Regions from separate parts of the Homo sapiens genome. Here region 1 is linked to region 2. The links are contacts of gene promoters, found by promoter capture Hi-C in blood cells and fetal thymus (Javierre and others, 2016). All regions are on one chromosome and are shown on one strand. Each heading gives the region's core, a stretch centred on a gene start or on the middle of the fragment in contact. The rest is flanking DNA. Distances are from core to core; before and after follow the strand shown.

Region 1 (3,182 bases), core at 276-2,775, 270 kb after region 2:
ATACAAAAAATTAGCCAGGTGTGGCAGCGTGTGCCTGAGTCCCAGCTATTAGGGAGGCTGAGGCAGGAGAATGGCTTGAACCCGGGAGGCGGAAGCTGCAGTGAACCGCGGTCACACCATTACACTCTAGCCTGGGTAACAGAGAGAGACTCTGTCTCCAAAAAAAAAAAAAAAAAAAGAATGCCAGAAGGATGGTCCCTGTGACATTTCCATTTAACAGTTTTAATTTTTTTTTCTTAATTTTTCTTAACCTCTGCCTCCTGAGTTTAAGTGATTCTCATGCCTCAGCCTCCAGAGTAGCTGGAATTACAGGCGCATGCCACCACGCCTGGCTAATTTTTGTATTTTTAGTAGAGACGGGGTTTCACCATGTTGGCCAGGCTGGTCTCGAACTCCTGCCATCAAGTGATCTGCCCACCTCGGCCTCCCAAAGTGCTGGGATTACAGGTGTGAGCCATCATGCCCGGCTTCAAATGCCCTTGCTCTAAGATCATTTGGTGGCAAGGAACAGTCTCTCAAGCTGGCTTAAACGGAATGATGGTGGCAGAGGGAGGTGTTTTTAAGAACACAAAAATCTCACTGACAAGTTAGCAACCCAGGGACAGAAAAAGGACAGCCAGGCATCATAGGACAGAAATTGTGAAATCATTTTCTGAGACTGTTCTCTTTTTAGGGTTGTCTATTATTTCGGCTTCATTCTTATAGCTTCCACTGCTTGTACCTGGCCCAGTGTGAGTGTTCTAGCTCCATCCTACAGGATCGTTCAGTCCAAGGGTCCATTAGCATCTGATTCAGTCTTAGTACAGAATCCTTAGAAATAAATGGATTGGCTCAGCTGTTAGTCTATGGATTGGTTCTTGGGTCACTGTTTTGCCCTCGGTCTGAGCATCTATTACTGGTGTGGAGTCACGCTCTGTAAACATGGCTGTCTAGGCTTCTTAAGAAGGATATGTGGATGTAAAACAATATTAGAATGGGTGTGAGTTGGGCTAAATACACTGTGATAACAAGCTTGCTCTAGCAAACATAAAGATGGGATGAAGATCCTTTTCTTCTGTGACACTTAAAAAGAGTCTGTAGCACTGACCTGGTCCTTGGTATGACCTTTTATTTTTTGAGTGTATGCTATTTTCTAACAACTGTAATACTGTGGAGGTAGGGATTAGTGCCAACTCATCTCTGACTCCTCAGAGTACCAACTCAAAGTTTCTCAGCACTGTGGTCTTGGGAATGACTTATTGCTGAGGTAAACTGTATCCATAATGTTTTTGATCGGTTAGACTTACCTACAGTTGGCTGATCTCTTCCACATGGGGTTCCTAGAGGCATTTCACAGGTTTTTTTTTGTTGTTATAGTAAAATATTCATAAAGTTGACCCAGTATAGTGGCTCATGCCTGTAATGCCAACACTTTGGGTGGCCAAGGCAGGCAGATTTCTTGAGTCCAGGAGTTCAAGACCAACCTGGGCAACATGGCGAAACCCTGTCTCTACCAAAAAAAAAGTACAAAAATTAGCTGGGCATGGTGGTACACACCTGTAGTCCTAGCTACTTGGAAGGCTGTAGCAGGAGGATTGCTTGAGTTCAGGAAGCGGAGGTTGCAGCAAGCCAAGAACAAACCACTGCACTCCAGCCTGGGTGATAGAACAAGACCCTGTCTAGAAAACACACACACACACACACACACACACACACACACATACACACACACACACGATATACATAGTTTGTCATTTTAACCAATTTTGAGTACACAATTCAGTAGCATTAAATACATTCATATTGTTGTGCAAACATCATGACTATCCATCTCCACAACTTTTTCATCCATTCCAAACTCAAACTCTGTACTCACTACACAATAACTCTCCATTCTGCACTCCCTTTCTACCCCATAGTAATTCTTTCTGTCTCTATGAATTTGATCATGCTAAGGCAGGAGTCGCCAACCCCCAGGCCATGACCCATATTGATCAGTGACCTGTTAGGAACCAGACTGCACAGCAGGAGGTGAATAGAGAGTGAGTGAACAAAGCTTCGTCTTTATTTACAGCTGCTCCCCATTGTTTGCATTACTGCCTGAGCTCCGCCTCCTGTCAGATCAGTAGCAGCATTAGATTCTCATAGAAGCGTGAACCCTGTTGCGAACTGCACATGCGAGGAATCTAGGTTGTGGGCTCCTTATGCAAATCTAATGCCTGATAATGGGTCACTGTCTCATATGACCCCCAGATGGGGCAGTCTAGTTGCAGGAAAACAAGCTCAGGGCTCCCACTGATTATACATTATGGTGAGTTGTGTAATTATTTCATTACATACTACAATGTAATAATAATAAAGTACACAATAAATGTAATGCACTTGAACCTTCCCAAAACCATCCCCCAGTATGCCCCCAACTGGTTTGTGGAAAAAATTGTCTTCCATGAAACCAGTTCCTGGTGCCAAAAACGTTGGGGACCACTATTCTAAGGTACCTCATATAAGTGGAATCATATAACATTTGTTCTTTTATGTCTCGCTTATTTCACTTAGCATAATGTTTTAAAGGTTCATCCCTGTTGTAGCATGTGTCAAAATTTCCTTCCTTTTAAAGGCTGAAAAATATTCTGTTGCATGTACATACCATATTTTGTTTATCCATCCATCCATCCATCAATGGGCACTTGAGTTACTGTTGTGAATAATGCTGCTATGAACATTGGTGTACAAATATGTTTGAGTCCCTGCTTTCAATTCCTTTGGATATATACCTAGAGGTAGAATTGTTGGATCATATGGTAATTCTACATTTAATTTTTTGAGGACCCTCCACATTGTCTTCCACAGTGGTTGTACCATTTTACATTCCCACCAGCAATGTACAAGGATCCCAATTTCTCCACATCCTGACACTTATTTTTTATAATAACCACCCTAATAGGTTCACATCTATTAGGTGTGCTAGCTCATTGTGGTTTTCATTTGCATTTCCCTAATGATTAGTGATGCTGAGTATCTTTTCATGTGCCTGCTATCTGTATATCTTTGGAGAAATGTCTATTTAAGTCTTTTGCCCACTTTTTTTTTGTATTTTGTTTTTACTCCTTTTTTGAGACAGGGTTTTGCTCTGTTACCTAGGCTGGAGTACAGTGGTCTGACCATGGCTCACTGCAACCTCTGCCACCTGGTATCAAGCAATC
Region 2 (3,280 bases), core at 656-3,155:
GAGTTTGAGATCAGCCTGGGCACATAGCAAAAACATGTTTCTACAAAAAAAAAAAAAAAAATGCTGGGCATGGTGGCACGTGCCTGTGGTCCCAGCTACTCAAGAGGCTGAGGTGAGAGGATTGCTTGAGCCTGGGAGGTGCAGGTTGCAGTGAGTGGAGATCGCACCACTGCACTCTAGCCTGGGTGACAGAATGAGATCCTGTCTCAAAAAAAAAAAAAAGAAAAAAAGTAAGCAATCAGGAGATGGAAAAGCCCTTTGTCCAAGTAAACTGGGAGATCGCTAACTAGAAAACATAATTTAAAAGTTCAAGGCATAGGCAGGAGAGGAGATGGCAATGTTTTAGACAGAAGAAACTAATCCAGCAGTTTAACTTTAAAATACATTTTAAAACTTTTTTTCCTTTCTCTTGGGTTTCAAGATACAACCTTGAAGCAAACTGCAAAAGCCTTTTCCCTTAGCTGTAAAATAGACCCCATATCCCTCCCTTTCTCACTGTATATACTCCCTTCACATTTATCTTACTGTATGCTAGTATTTAATTATCTGCCTTCTGAGAAGTTCCAAGGGCTAATCTTGAGACAGACAAACCAAGCCTGGAGACACAGCTGCAAAATTCCAAAGATTACTTCAAGGTGGCTAGTCAACAGCGGGGCCATTGTGGAGATGAGACCAGCCCACGCTCCAGGTAGGCTGGGACCCAAGATAGCCACCAGAACAAGACACACAGACGTTGTACTCTGTACAATTCTTGCATGCTTCCCATATCAAATTTTCCTTTTAAGCCGTTCTCTTTCCCCCCAAAATCGAAGTGGTTACTTTAGATGGGAATCTGGCCACTTCCCCATTACTCCGCTCTCGGTTTTTTTGTTTGTTTTAGTTTGAGACAGGGTCTCACCTTGTCACCCGGGTTGGAGTGCAGTTGACAGCTCATTGCAGCTTGGACCTCCGGGGCCACAGCGATTCTCCTGCCTCGGCCTCTCAGTAGGTAGGACTACAGGCACGCACCACCACACCCGGCTAATATTTGTAATTTTTTGTAGAGACAGGGTTTCGCCATGTTGCCCAGGCTGGTCTCGGACTCCTGAGCTCAATCTCTTGTTAACTGGACTCTGCAAGCCGCAGGGAGAAACGTGCTTTCCTTAGAAAACTAGACTAGAGCATATTTACTGATGCTAAAGAGGTTGGTTTTGTATTTCCCTGGGCAAATAATTCTCTCTGAGCCTCCGTTTCTTCTAGAGATGATGTCCATCTTGCAGGATTGAGAACTGGTATAAGCTCCATTATGAAAAGTGACTGACACAAGCTTGGCAGAAAACGGGTATACTCCGTTTCTCTCCTTAATATCCTCCATGCCATTTGATTGCACAGCAGGGTAGGCGAGTGAGAACTTAGTGTTAGACTCTGTAAAGTATTTAAGATGTGCAGCGAGCTCTGCCTGTCTGAAGTTTTCAACGGACCGGAAAAGGATACTTTCAGGTGCTGAATTATTAAGAAACATATGGTGGGCCCCATTTCCATTTCCCCAGGCTTAAAGGACATGGACAAGCAGGTGAGCCCCGCCCCTGTCTCTCTTCCAGGGCGGAGCTTGGGTAGGCCCCGCCCTCTTGCTCGGTGGGGCGGGGCGAGGGCTGGAGGCGGGGTAGGTCCAGCGAGCGAGCGAGCGCCCAGCGCCTCGGGCTGAGTGAGGGAGGAGGTTCGGTGGAGAGGCTGCAAGTGGGCGAGGGCTGGGCGCAGCGACCTCATTGGAGCCGGCCGGTGGACGCCCCGGCGGAACCGCCCAGAGTTCCTGTCCTGCGCTACCTACCCGAACGCGCCTGCGCGCTGCGAACCCCGCCCCGGTGTCACCTGTTGGAGCCCCCCGCCCGCGTAGCCGTGCACATGCGCACTGCCGGCCGCCGGCCAGTGGGGTCACGTGTTGCGCGCGAGCCACCTCCCCTGCTGGCGCTTCCTGTCGCTACCGCTGCGGCCCAGGGCCCGCGGGAGCCCAGGGCGGTGCCGGGTGAGACAAGGCCGGGGTTTGGCTCGGATTCACCGCGAGGTATGCCGCGTCCCCGCCCCTCGGCGTGGGGAGTTCTGGGGACCGCGGGGGTAGATGGAGGCGGCGCGGGCGGGGCAGGGCGGCGCGTCCCGCAGCGCGGGAGTGGGGGTCCCGTGTCGCCTCCCCCTACGGACTCCGTTGCCCACCTTCCGTGAGGCCTGGCTGTGTCATCGGGGCCGCAGCCTTGGAGTGTCTGGCCTCGCTTTCACCTGAGCCGGAGTCACTCCCGAAATCTGACACTCAGAGTCCCCCGGAGCGCCCGCCAGCTCCTCCGCCCGCTCCCCGCCGCCTCCACGCCCGTCAGCTGGTCTCCCCGCCAGCGCTGTGGCGAGATGCGCCGGCTTCCTGCCTTTTCCCCCTACCTTCTGTGCACCTCCCCTTTGGTGCCAGAATGGGGTTTCTGAAACACCGATACGATCCCGCCACTTCTTTCCCAGCGCCCTCAGAATAATGCCCAAACGCTTTTCGGCTTAGAGGTTTTCATATTCTGCCGCTTGCTCACATTTCCACCTCGGCTTGTGCATTCAGGCCTCACCGCTTATGCCCCAGTCATACCAGGCCTCAGGTTCCATTGTACAGGCCAAGCTGCTCCCCACTTCAGAGCCGTCAAGTGTTCCCTCGTCTTGGAATCCTATTTCCCTCTTTCCCCCAACTTCTTTGCGTGACTCAGCTCAGGCGTCACCGCCTCGAAGGAGGAGCCTTTTCTCCCAGGGCTGAAGAAGGGGTCACCTCAGGGCACCCATGGCCCCTGGGGCAACCCCGTGTAGTCCACCTCCACCCTGTAAATGGTCATTGAAGGCTGAGACCGTCTTAGGTTCATTTCTGCGCTCCCAGTGCCCAGCGCAAGGTCTGACACAGGAGGTCCTGTGAATAACTGTGAGATCTTTATGGGAATCAGAATGCTGAGCCAGCTTTCTCCAGAGCTCAGCTGTGAGATGGAACTTTGATGACATGTCCTTGGATGATGAAAATGTTCTGTGTGTGTGCTGTCTGGTCATAGCCCCTCACCACATATGGCTGTTAAGCACTTGGAATGTGTCTGTTGTGGCTGATGGACTGGATTTTTAGCTTTATTTCATTTTAATTCATTGAAATTTAAAATTAAATAGCCAGCTGTGGCTTCCATAAGCACAGCTTTAGAGCCTTTCTGAATTCTACCCAGCCTTCCACCCACCCTGAACCTAGAGTACTTCCCTGAATGTGCTTTTTAAATTTGAGTCCGTTCAGAACATTCCTCAG

Evidence for each region. The method cuts DNA at HindIII sites, captures the fragments that hold promoters and counts their contacts. A CHiCAGO score of 5 or more calls a contact.
Region 1: a contact is called between a fragment that was not itself captured here and the fragment with the promoter of CC2D1B in region 2, in 1 of 17 cell types (endothelial precursors). The highest score is 5.1, in endothelial precursors.

The regions. Positions count from the first base shown.
Region 1 is chr1:52,097,202-52,100,383 of GRCh38, reverse strand. No RefSeq gene overlaps it. Among named protein-coding and RNA genes, the nearest start is that of BTF3L4, 42 kb to the right of the region's middle. The HindIII fragment of the contact is 1,024 bases long and covers 1,014-2,037 here.
Region 2 is chr1:52,364,830-52,368,109 of GRCh38, reverse strand. CC2D1B (coiled-coil and C2 domain containing 1B) reads left to right here and starts at 1,905. Exons shown (of 25, transcript NM_001330585.2): 1 at 1,905-2,041. RefSeq lists silencers at 1,526-2,155, 2,196-2,305. The HindIII fragment of the contact is 5,331 bases long and covers 1,309-3,280 here.